Regions from separate parts of the Homo sapiens genome. Here regions 2 and 3 are each linked to region 1. The links are contacts of gene promoters, found by promoter capture Hi-C in blood cells and fetal thymus (Javierre and others, 2016). All regions are on one chromosome and are shown on one strand. Each heading gives the region's core, a stretch centred on a gene start or on the middle of the fragment in contact. The rest is flanking DNA. Distances are from core to core; before and after follow the strand shown. Region 1 holds the start of UQCRFS1 (ubiquinol-cytochrome c reductase, Rieske iron-sulfur polypeptide 1). Region 2 holds the start of PDCD5 (programmed cell death 5). Region 3 overlaps DPY19L3 (dpy-19 like C-mannosyltransferase 3).

What was found. The method cuts DNA at HindIII sites, captures the fragments that hold promoters and counts their contacts. A CHiCAGO score of 5 or more calls a contact.
Region 2: a contact is called between a fragment that was not itself captured here and the fragment with the promoter of UQCRFS1 in region 1, in 1 of 17 cell types (naive CD8 T cells). The highest score is 5.2, in naive CD8 T cells.
Region 3: a contact is called between a fragment that was not itself captured here and the fragment with the promoter of UQCRFS1 in region 1, in 1 of 17 cell types (naive CD8 T cells). The highest score is 6.6, in naive CD8 T cells.

What each region holds. Positions count from the first base shown.
Region 1 is chr19:29,210,920-29,215,113 of GRCh38, forward strand. UQCRFS1 (ubiquinol-cytochrome c reductase, Rieske iron-sulfur polypeptide 1) reads right to left here and starts at 2,232. Exons shown (of 2, transcript NM_006003.3): 1 at 1,986-2,232. The coding sequence starts at 2,199. UQCRFS1-DT (UQCRFS1 divergent transcript) reads left to right here and starts at 2,334. Exons shown (of 2, transcript NR_184022.1): 1 at 2,334-2,489. RefSeq lists a silencer at 1,826-2,135 and an enhancer at 2,176-2,415. The HindIII fragment of the contact is 13,970 bases long and covers 1-4,194 here.
Region 2 is chr19:32,580,831-32,585,024 of GRCh38, forward strand. PDCD5 (programmed cell death 5) reads left to right here and starts at 360. Exons shown (of 6, transcript NM_004708.4): 1 at 360-497; 2 at 1,365-1,402; 3 at 4,120-4,181. The coding sequence starts at 432. RefSeq lists silencers at 110-839, 185-361. The HindIII fragment of the contact is 1,457 bases long and covers 965-2,421 here.
Region 3 is chr19:32,408,573-32,412,766 of GRCh38, forward strand. DPY19L3 (dpy-19 like C-mannosyltransferase 3) reads left to right here. Exons shown (of 19, transcript NM_001172774.2): 3 at 2,667-2,800. Among named protein-coding and RNA genes, the nearest start is that of DPY19L3, 4.9 kb to the left of the region's middle. The HindIII fragment of the contact is 772 bases long and covers 1,781-2,552 here.

The sequences.
Region 1 (4,194 bases), core at 982-3,481:
CTGAGGAATCTCCACACTGACTTCCACAATGGTTGAACTAGTTTACAGTCCCACCAACAGTGTAAAAGTGTTCCTATTTCTCCACATCCTCTCCAGCACCTGTTGTTTCCTGACTTTTTAATGACTGCCATTCTAACTGGTGTGAGATGGTATCTCATTGTGGTTTACAGGCAACCTAAAAATTGGGAGAAAATTTTTGCAACCTACTCATCTGACAAAGGGCTAATATCCAGAATCTACAATGAACTCAAACAAATTTACAAGAAAAAAACAAACAACCCCATCAAAAAGTGGGCGAAGGACATGAACAGACACTTCTCAAAAGAAGACATTTATGCAGCCAAAAAACACATGAAAAAATGCTCAGCATCACTGGCCATCAGAGAAATGTAAGCCTCCAATTTTTTGAAGAAACTTTAGCAACACGACGAATTCCAAAGATGCTTTTCTTTTGCTATTGAAATGTTCTCCTTCCTTCCTTCTCACCTCCAGGTCCCAAGGATGGGCTAGGGTACTCTACACCTGCCATGGACAGTTTCTTCAAAACCCACTGATGCTCCTTAACAAATATTCATTCACAAATACTTTGCACTAACTGTATACAAAATCCGACGTTGTGAAAGATAGAAAAATAAAGAAGATATTACCTTCTCTATGCCCTTAAGCCCAAGGGTGGAGGAGTTACCAATAAACACAATACAGAGTGTAAAGTGTATGTGCTACAGAGACAGACAAATCAGCAAATAAAAACTTTATTCACCTGATCCTTAACTGAGATTGAAAAGATGGGTAAGGAAAACATATGGACATGTAGCAACTTAGTGGAAGGACCATGAAGAAAGTGCAGAGCCCAGGGTGAATGAAGACAGAGTAAAAAGAAAAGTGGCGGGCAATTTGGTTAGCGTGTAGGGGAAGAGTCACAAACAGCTATCAGTGGAGCCAGGCTGGTAACAGAATGAAACACGCAGACCTGGTAAAGACTGTGACAAACTGGAGAAGACCACTTGCTCCAACTGCGGGGGCGGCCACTACACAGCACACTATGGAATTTTCCCAAGTAGAAACTAGATCCCAGTATTACCGGCTTCCAGCATTTTAAGAGATGCCATTAGTCTTCCCAGTTTTTTTGAAAACTACACAGCCTGCAGACACACTGCCCACAGGCTGCCATTTCTCTATCTCCGATACAGGGCCAAGTAAAGATGGAAGGCGAGGCAAAGAAGATAAACGGGGATCTAAGGACAGAGGGTGTGGAATAGCCCCTGCGAAGAGCTCAGTGGCTACGACAATTCGTCTTGTCAAATCCCTGCTACCACATGTCCACACCACGGATCCTGGTGCGAGTCATTCTACCTCGTCTGTTTTCTCATCTGTAAAATGTAAATGTCGTCAATCTCTGCCCGTCCTTGACGACTGATTATGTTGTGACACTACACTGTAACTGACCTTGTGTATGTTTTTTTTGTTTTTTTTTTGGTGGGGGGGTGATGAAGGGGAAGGACATGAAGGGATCGGTAGTGGTGAGAAGACCAACTTCCCAAATATTAGTAAGTTTCCATTTCTTAAGCATGTAAGTGCCCAAACTGTGCTAACGGCTTTACGTAGAATTCCTCCACCTAAGCCTCACGACACCCCTACAAAATTGATAAAGATATGAATCCATTTCACAGGAAGTACGTTTAGAAACTCGCCCAAGGTCAAACGACCTGCAAGCAACAAAACCCCTCAGAGGTGGCTGGAACAGCGGGACTACAGAGCTCGTGAACTCGGCCGAGGAGGAACCAGGCGAAGCCGGCGGACGCGAGTCCAGGCCGGCCACCAGAAAGACGCCCCGAGCCCGGGGGCCAGGCCCAGAGTTGCGGAGGCCGCCCAGCCCGACCTGATTCAGGCTCCGCTCGCGCGCCCGCGGCCGCTCCCTGCTGGGGGCCGGAGGAGCGGGCACCGAGAGACCCCCAGCCCTGCTCGCGGCCCTCGCCCCGGCTCACCATTGAGGCCCACGGAGGCGACCAAAGGCCGGCGCACGGCCTGGCCGCTCAGCGACTCCCGGCTGAGGAAGGGCCGCTTCAGGTCCAACACAGGCTGCTCCGGGGTGGCGGGCACCGTGGCCTGCACCAAGGGCCGCAGCGCGCCCGCCACCCCGCGGGACGTGGCCGACAGGACGGGCGCGAACGGGCCTGAGCGGGATGCTACCGACAACATGGCGACAGCCGCTCCAACCGCCAAGCCGGTCACAGGGACGACCTTCCAACCACGGCGCAGGCGCGAGGAGGCGCGGGACGCGTGACGACAGCGCGCCGCCGGAAAGGAAATTCTGCAGTCCTGCAGGGCGGGGCAAACTTGGAGAGGCGCTGCGTCGGGGGACGGGGCTACAAGCCGTCGCTGGGGGCGGGGCTTGCGGCCCACCTGTAGGTCCCGGTGCCACCTCGTCAGTGTCCCGAGAGATCCCCAGAAGAACGAGAGGGCTGAACAGGGGACCCCACTGACGTCCGGTGGGCCGACTTTACGATCCTTTAGGGTAAAAATTTCATCTAGGAAGACCTAGAGATAACAATAAACGATTATAGTTTAACTTAGGATGGTAATATATCTCAACTACGACGAAGTCCAGCACATAGTAATCGCTATGTGTTTACTATGATGATTTTTATTATCTTCATCTAACAACAACAACAACAAAAAGGCCAGAGGCATCTGTGCAAAGCTCGATAATGCTAATGGATTATGTTTATTAAGTATTCACTGTGTATTTGGTTTTGCGTTTTATTATACCTACGTTCTTTCATTTGTTATCAAGGTCTCTATGAAGTCAGAGCTATTACTATCAGCATTTTACCCATGAAGAAACCGAGGTTTAGAGAGATTCTTTTCCAGGAACTGGATAGCCAGCAAGATGTGAAGCAGGGTAATCTGTCTCCTGAGTCTATGCTCTTCAGTGCCACCACTGTTTCCCAAAGTAGGATTTTAGAATTTTAGAGGATGCACAGAGCTCGCTCATTCATGTTCCATCACATAGTGAGAAAGTTTTGTTTTCTTTTGTTTTGTTTTTCAATCCTGATTGCACCAATGAGAAAGTCTCAGTTTGGTGCTAATACATCTTTAATTAAAAAAAAAAAAAAGTAGAGATGAGGTCTCACTATATTGCCCACTCCAGTCTCGAACTTCTGGCCTCAAGGAGTCCTGTCTCCCCCTCCCAAAGTACTGGGATTATAGGCATGAGCAAATTCACTTGGCCTCAGTTTGATCCTAATATATCTTTAATTCCTCTCTACACTTATCTCCCACTTTTAACAGAAAAGATCTTGAGTTAGAAGCTCTTAGCAGAGAACTGAGTCTAGAGTGATTTCATTATATGGTTCATAGTATTGATTTTCTATCCATACTGGTTTTCTATTCTGTACTATACTGAGATAAAGTTTTTCATTTAGGTCAAAAATAATTTAAATATTAAGTAAATGTTAATATAAGCAGTGCACAGAATTGGCTCTGTGCTGTGCATGGGCTCTGTGATCTGGGCAAGTTCCCTCACCTCTCTGTGCCTCAGTTTCCTCACCTGCCAAATGGGGGCAGTAATGATGCCATGTGTGTTGTAAAGTTACTGGGAGGAGTAAATGAACTAAAACGTGTAAAGCATCTACAAGCAGGCCCAGCACACAGGCAGCACCAAGTGAGGATTTGCTAGTGGTGTTTTTATCTGAGATGCCACCTCCTCTAAGAAGCCTTCCCTTGATCCTTGCTGACTCGTTGTTATTCCTCATGCCAGGTCCAAAGTGTACTGACAGGTTTCCCCTTTGACCTTCCTATGACTCCCCTTAGGGCCTAGGCTTTGACCAGCCTTATAGCCCAAGGGACTATATTGTACTCTCAAGATTGGAGGCTGCCTCCTCAGGGGCCACCCTAGCCAGGCTCATCACACAGCTGGCTCAGTGCTCTCCCTTGGCAACAACCTTAGGATAAAAGACATTTCCAGAGAAGTTGTCACACAGCATGCATGGTTTGAGTGCTTCACAAGAAATAATATCACAATTCCCTCTGAGTTGGTAAGGAAATGAAAAATGAATGAATGAATGAATGATCCTTCACAAAACCTTCACAATGTCCCAGTTGGGTGAACAGAATAGGAATTATCTCCAGACCTCCTGGGTTCAATTTTAGTTTCACCACTCACTAGCTGTGCCCTAGGGCAAGTTATTTAAT
Region 2 (4,194 bases), core at 443-2,942, 3.4 Mb after region 1:
CACTCAGCCTTCCTGCGCCCCTGGTTCCTCATCTATAAATAGAGATAATATACGCCTAACCCTCTAGGTCACCAGCACATTGCACCCATAATTATTATACTTGTTGATGCCACACTTTCAGGTTTTAACCTTTCCAAAGCGCAGCCCCGCCCCAGCGCAGCCCAAGTCCCTGCACGCAGAGGCGCCGATCACGGGTGGGAGGTGGATCCCGGAGGCCCCGCCCCAGGCCCCGCCCCTCCGTGCGCCCAAGCTCGACCGCCTGAAATCGGGGAATCGGGCCTCTGCCGGCGCCCTGGCAGCGGCGCGGGGCGTGGCTCCGGGCTGGATTGGTGGCGCCTGGGCCCCGCGAGCGCCTGCGCAGTGGTCAAGGCCGCGCTCGCGCCGAGGGGCTGCGAGAGTGACCGCGGCTGCTCCAGCGCTGACGCCGAGCCATGGCGGACGAGGAGCTTGAGGCGCTGAGGAGACAGAGGCTGGCCGAGCTGCAGGCCAAACACGGGGTGAGCGCATCAGCCCCCGCCAGGCTTGGCCCTCGCGGGGCGCCGCCCTCGCCCGGAGTGTAGGGCGCGCCTCCGGGGCGGAGGCTCTGGGCGCCTCCCCGGGGCCCCGGTCCCCTGCGCTGCCCTGGCGGCCTCGTGGCCGGCTCAGAGGTGGCCTCGTCGCTTTCCTCGTCGCGAGGGGCCCAGGAGGCTGGCGGCGGGGGCCGCCACGTGCGGGACCTGCCCTGGCGTTGGGGTGTGGGGTCCCCTAGCCTGGAGCGGGCTCGTCCTGGCGGGCCTGGATCCAAGCACAATCTCAGCTTTTGGAGCCAGCAGCCGGACCGAATTCAGTTTTTCCGGAGTTCAGTTGTTATGACCCAAGTTTAGCCGACAGGTATTGAGGGTCCGCTGTGTTCCCGGTGCTGAGAGCGCGGCAGGGTCGGAGGAACGCTTGCCCCGCCGGGATGACAGGGAGGGGCCGCCTGGGAAGCTTGGATGGATCACACGCCCGGAGAGGCGTTTCTGATAAGGGACCGGGACCTTAGGGACGGAGGGCGCAGTCTTTGAGTTATCGTTGTCCCTAATACCGAGGCCCGTTTTATTTTCCAGAAATTATTCCTACATGTGAAACACGGTTTCGTAATACAGGGATTCCCCTCCCCAGGGTGCTCTGTATTCCAAAGCCTTCTGAGGTTGTGGTTTTAGACGTTCATCAAAACGTTGTAAGTGGGAACTAGTTCATTGATTTCTGTGAGGCCCAGTTTCTTATTTGGGGAGTTGTTTCTACCACCGCAAGAGACTGTTATGTATAGGAAACAACAGAACCGTTCCTTTTTCCCGCCGCCTCCCGTGAAATTTCTCTATTAAATTTAAGTTTTTTTTTTCCAGGATCCTGGTGATGCGGCCCAACAGGAAGCAAAGCACAGGTATGGGCTGGAAACGTGAACTTTTTGAAGGGTGGTTTCACCAAATGGATTTCTTTTGCTGTAGTTATTTTAAGCAGGTGTGTGACTCAGATTTTTTTGTTTTGCTGGAATGGTGATTTGGCCAAAATCATCCGCAGGGTATCTTCATTATTGTTAAATAAACACGTGTGCAGCTCCACATCAGACCTTGTATTGCAATTACTGGTTGATGTTTCTCTGCTACAATGTGAGTACCTTAAAAATGAGCCTGATAATAGGCAGCTGTGGCAGTTTCCTCGGCTGTGGGGGTGACGTGAGTCCGGTGCCTCACTTAGTAAGTGCTCAATAAGTGTTAACTGGTAAGCTATTCTGATTGTTTTATCCCAACACAGCGCACAGCACCTGAGACAGATGCAGGTAATTGATTCGGTGGCAGGTTTATTGAATGAGTATGTGATTACCCTATCATGCTATCATTTTTTAAAAATTGTGGTTAAATAAAATTTCACCATCACAACCATTTTTAAGTGTGCTCTTCAGTAGTGTTCACACTCTAGAATGTTTTCATCTTGCAAGACTGAAACCTTTAGCTACTGGACAATTCTCTATTTCCCCTTCCTCACCTTCTTACTCCTCCTCTCCAGCAAATATTTATAGAGCACCTGCTCTGGGTCAGGCACTGTGCTGGGTCTACAGAAATAGGAAGGGAGGGTTCGGGAGAAGACAGACGGTGAGAAGTATCTGGAGTAGTGATAGGAAGTAAAACGACGCAAATTTCATTGATTTCTGCCGTGTACATCTTTTCATTGTCACATATCTGAAATCAGGATGCCTTTTAAAACAGATTGCTCTTGCCCCAGATTCTTCCAGAGGGGATTTACTTTTGACTCTGCTATCACTTGAGTACATTTCTGAGACCATTGAAAGTTAAATTCTCTGCTTGAGGTTTTCCCCTGCCTCCTGCCTAGTAGTGTGAATTCAGACAGCAACCCTGTAAGACTGAACTTTTTTCTTCTTTACGTCAGGGCCAGGTGCATGCAAGCTTTTGTACTGCCCCTTACTGCATGGCATATTTATTTATTCTTTACTTTGTACTGAGAATGTTGCTCTTTGATACCCCAGTGGTGGGATCAGAACTCACTGCAGCCTCAAACTCCTGCTGGGCTCAAGTGATCCTCCCACCTCAGCCTCCTGAGGAGCTGAGATGACAGGCGTGCACCACCATGCCTGGCTAATTTTTTTAAACTTTTTTTTTTTTTAATAGCCTCGCTATATCACCCAGGCTGGTCTCAAACTCCTGGCTTCAAGTGATCCTCCCACCTTGGCCTCCCGAGAAACCCCAGTTTTGAATGGAGATCTCTATTAGACCTCTCATTTTAGGGTTTTTCATTTTTAGAGATACGTAAAACTATGGTGTATCTTAGAATTGATGGCATCTTAGGGTTCTGTGATATAATAGTTTGTGGCAGGCCAGGTGTGGTGACTGAAGCCTGTAGACCCAGCTACTCAGGAGGCCGAGGGGGAAGAATCACTTGAGCACAGGAGCTTGAGCTGATCATAGCTGCAGTGAGCTGTGATTGCACCACTGTACTCCAGCATGAACAGCAGAGTGAGACCCCATCTTTTTTTATTGTTGTTGAGATGAAGTCTCACTCCATCACCCAGGCTGGAGTGCAGTGGCACAATCTTGGCTCACCGTAACCTCTGCCTCTGAGCTTCAAGCGATTCTCCTGCCTCTGCCTCCCAAGTAGCTGGGATTACAGGCACCCGCCACCATGCCCGGCTAATTTTTGTATTTTTAGTAGAGATGGGGTTTCACCATGTTGGCCAGGCTGGTCTCAAACTCCTGACCTCAAGTGATCCACCCACCTCAGCCTCCCAAAGTGCTGAGATTACAGGCATGAGCCACCATGCCTGGCCTAGACCCCATCTCTTAAAGTTTGTGGCAGGGCTGCAGTACTCAAACCATAAAGAAGTGGCCTATGGAAATGAGCTTTAAGCCACATTCCATGAACCGAAGGGCCTCTGAGCTGGGAGTGGATAGTGGGCACAGCCAGCCCCAGCTCTCCCTCTCAGTTGAGCCAAAGCATCTGTGCTCATTTGTTTTTAGATTTCTTAAAGGATTTCATTTGAAAGAAAAAAGAAACAAGTCCATGAGACCACTGTCCTGTGAACGTGAACTACTTTCTATTTGGGTAGGTAGGAAGAAGTGAGGATAGTTGCAAAGTTATAATTTCATTCCCCTTCCCCACCCAGAAAAATAGAACTGAGAGTCTTAAAACATGGAATCTGGCTGTAGCTTGGCCACAGTTACCTATGTCTCTTTAGCATAGCCTCCTGGATCTCAGCTTTATCTCTAAGAAAATGATATAGATTAGTCACATGGTCCTTCTAATTGCCTGAAATCCCACTATAAATTTCTAGCACCTGTCACGCAATAGGTACTTAAGAAATGTTGGTGATGGTGTTTGAACTGAGGCTCCACTCTGATGAAACTGTAAAGCTCACCTTCCAGCCTGGTAGGTTGTCACCTGTGTAATATAAAGCTGGTTCTTTGAGGGCAAAAGGGGATTCTACTTGAATGTAGCTGCAGCCTTATGTACAGCAACTACCATAATGCAGTTTGTATACCGCAGGCCCCATGTGGAGACACATACTGGATGGGTTCTTTCTCGTATGTTACATGGGAATGCCGACAGCTGTGTTTTAATTGTGTTTGACCTATGTTTTCGTTGTAGGGAAGCAGAAATGAGAAACAGTATCTTAGCCCAAGTTCTGGATCAGTCGGCCCGGGCCAGGTGTAAGCATCTTTG
Region 3 (4,194 bases), core at 917-3,416, 3.2 Mb after region 1:
TCATTAACTTACGGTTCTTCCAATCTCATCCTTTGACTCTCTAGAGTAATGGTCCCCCCACCCACACCCCAGATTTTAGTCTCTCTCTAATTTTTCTGGTCGTGTATACTATTTACACCAGGCAACCTTACCTTGGGTGAGTTTCCATTAAGGTAGTGAAAGGTGGATCAACATTTTTTAAAAATTCTTTATAATTAGTCAAATTCCTGAAGTTTTCTTTTGCTTTTTTTTTTTTTTCTTTTATTGGTGGGAAAAGTAATCAGAACTTGGTCAGTTGTTTGTATAATGGTAAAGACTTGCTAAGTGATGCATCAGATAGCATTAATTACCAACTTCTTGCTTCCTGAGTAGCTTTTGTAACTAAAGCATGGTCAGGATTTTAAAAGTTAACATGAAAATCTTCATACCCATTAACCATTTTGGATATCTGACAGAATTTACATTATTTACAGCCATGTTAATTCTTACCAGCCAGGCTAGTAAAGCAATTCAGGGAAACAGTTTAACAAAAGTAATCTGTAATGGGAGGTCATGACACCTGGCTCAGCCATTAGCGAGTGATTAACACGTTTTGGATAATAGTACTTTCTGAACACCTTAAACAATGCAAAGAAAAAGAAATATACTCCCATCCTGAAACTAACACCAGTGGCACTGTCTTGCTGTCTTAATGTCATATTCTGCACATGTATACCCATAAGCATTCGTATACAGTTTTGCAAAATTGGGATCCACGTGCTGTTTTGTAGCTTGCTATTTTTCTCTTATTATGTTATGAACATGTCATAAGCCAGTTAACGTATTTTTGAAATATCATCTATGTAAAGTATTTTTATAGCTGCCACTGTAGAAGTGAAAGGTTTTCTTACCATTTGCTAATACAGACAGAACTGTGATCAATTTCCTTGTGGCCATATGTTTGTTTAAAACTTTATTTCCTTGGGGCATGTCTTAGTCCATTTCTGTTGCTATAAAGGAATACTTGAGGCTAGGTGATTTATAAAGAAAAGAGGTTTCTTTGCCTCAGGGTTCTGCAGACTGTATGAGAAGCATGGCACCAGCATCTGCCTCTAGTGAGACCTCAGGAAGCTTCCAGTCGTGGCAGAAGACTTAGGGGAGCCAGTGTGTAGAGATCACATGACCAGAGTAGAAGCAATTTCCAGGGAACACAGGATGTCAGGCTCTTTTTTAACCAACCAGCTCCCCTAGGACTAACAGAATGAAAACTCAGTACTGCTAGAATCTCACCAACCTGTTTATAAGGGCTCTGGTTCCATCACCACACCACCTCCCATTAGGCCCCACCTCCAACATTGGGAATCACATTTCATCATGAGATTTGGAGGGGCCGAATAGTCAAACCACAGCAGGGTACATGCCTAGATTGGGAATTACTGGCCAAATGGGATGCTCATTTTGGTGGCTTTTACTCACTGCTGCCATGTTGCATTCCAGAGAGGCACCAATTTATTCTTCTAGCAGCAATGTTTGAAGATGTCTATTTTTTATACCCTTACCAAAACAGTATTAGCATTTTGAAAGCTGTCAAATTGGCCAAGATTTAAGTATAACTCACAGTTTTGATTTGCATTTCTTTAACATTAATGAATTTAAACATCTTCAGTCTGTTATTATTATTGGCCACTTTTTTCTATTGTACATTGCCTGTTCATGTCCTTAATCTTTTTCCTACTGCAGTATTCATCTTGACAGGACAATAAATTGTCCTGAAATAAAATAAATTGTCCTGAAAGTATTCATCTTATGTTAAGGGTATTTAAGCTTTCTTATATGTGCTATCCATATTTTGCCTAGTTTATATGTCCTTTAACTTGAGTTATGTTGGATTATTTATTCTGTGGGTTTTTCCCCCCAGAGCATTCCTGCAAAACCTGTGGGTTTAAAAAAAAAGTTTTAGGTAATCGGCCAGGTGCAGTGGCTCATGCCCGTAATCCCAGCACTTTAGGATCCCAGCTTGGGTGGGTGAATCACTTGAGGTCAGGAGTTCAAGACCAGCCTGGCCAACATGGTGAAACCCTGTATCTACTAAAAATACAAAAATTAGCCAGGCATGGTGGCATGTGCCTGTAGTCCCAGCTACTCAGGAGGCTGAGGTGGGAGAATTGCTTGAACCTAGGAGGCAGAGGTTGCAGTGAACCGAGATTGCACTACTGCATTCCATCTTGGGCAACAGAACAAGATCCTGTCTCAAAAAACAATAATTATTTTTTAGGTAATCAAGTTTTTAAAATAGCTTTTAAAGAATAAGCCACCAATTGTACCTAGATTATCTAAAAGATCGATTACGTCCTAGACACGTAACACATTTAGTCATCCATTTAACAGACTTCATAGTTAAATTACGGTTGTTAAACTGTGCCGGACAGAGGCCCTCAGTATTAAACATGAATAAGATAATGTATTTGTCTTCAAGAAGCTCACGTTGTAGTTGGCAGAATGGACACATGGACAGTTAGATACGGGGTAACAGTTGTAATAGAATGAAAACAGGTCTGTGGAATCAGAAAGGACCCTCCGCTGGAGACAGGAAAAGCTTTCCCAGTGACAGGCAGCTAGACTTAGCTTACTTGATAATCTGAAGTAGAACTATTACATTCTGATTTTTTTACTGACTTAGTTATTTATCTGTTCCATTTTTCCAAAAGGTTGTACCAGTAGAAGATTATGGAAGATTTTGTCATTGACAATTGGTGGAACCATTGCCCTTTGCATTGGACTTCTTACATCTGTCTACCTTGCCACGTTACATGAAAATGATTTATGGTTTTCTAATATTAAGGTATGGAGTTTCTTTGACCATTGTATCATTCACTCAGTGGGATCTCCAGTAGTAAGCCATGTGGATGAATGACCAAGGCAACACAGTTTTGCCATAAAGAATCCAATCTCTAGAAAGGTTGGACTATAGAGTGAAATAACTTTTGTGTTTATTATTTTAAAATAACATATTAGAATCTTTTTTTAAATTTTTCTTTATTATTTATTTATTTTTGAGATGGAGTCTCACTCTGTCACCCAGGCTGGAGTGCGGTGGCGCAATCTTGGCTCACTACAACCTCTGCCTCGCAGGTTCAGGTGATTCTTCTGGCTTAGCCTCCCAAGTAGCTGGGACTATAGGTGCGTGCCACCACACCCAGCTAATTTTTGTATTTTTACTAGAGACGGGGTTTCAGCATATTGACCAGGCTGATCTCGAACTCCTGACCTTGTGATCTGCCTGTCTCAGCCTCCCAAAGTGCTGGGATTACAGGCGTGAGCCACTGCGTCCAGCCAGAATCTTTATTTTTCATTTTAATTTTTTGAGATAGGGTATTGCTCTGTCACCCAGGCTAGAATGCAGTGGTGCAAACATGGGTCACTGCAGCCTCAACCTCCTGGGCTCAAGTGAGTATCCTGCCTAAGCTTCCTGTGTCACTGGGACCCCAGGCATGCACCACCTCACCAAGCTAAATTTGATTTTTTTGTAGAGACAGGGTCTCACTTTGTTGCCCATGCTGGTCTCGAACTCCTGGGCTCAAGCGATCCTACTGCCCTGGTCTTCCAAAATATGAGAATGAGCCATAGCACCCAGCCCAGAATTTTTATAATCAAGTGAGTTTTTTCTTTTTCATTAACTTATTCCATTTATTTAGCAGTTATTCTAAATTAGTATTTTTCAAGTTATAGATTGTGAAATTAGTGCAGTAGGTCATGAGTAACATTTTTCTTAATGAAATCAAAAAGAAAGAATACTATCACATCTAGTAGGGTTGAGGATTGTTTTGTGAAACTTTTAATTTTATATATATATATATATGCACAAACTGGGTCACAGTATACAAGGTACTTCCTTTTCTTTTTTTTCTTGTTGGCTACAACAGGAAAAAAAAAAAACAGAAAAGGAAATAAAAAAGCCACTGCTTTAAATCATGGGGTCTAAATGTGGCTCCACAGAGGGTCCTCAGCATGTTCATGACTATCTAATACTCTGTGCAAGTGGTTTTGCAGGGCATAGGGCGATGGGGAAGCCATATGTTTCCAGGGAAAGGAACTGTAATTTTAATCAGATTTTCAGGAGGGTTAGCCGGGCGTCACGCCTGTAATCCCAGCACTTTGGGAGGTCGAGGCGGGCAGATCACTTGAAGTCAGGAGTTCAAGACCAGCCTGGCCAACATGGTGGAACCCTATCTCTAC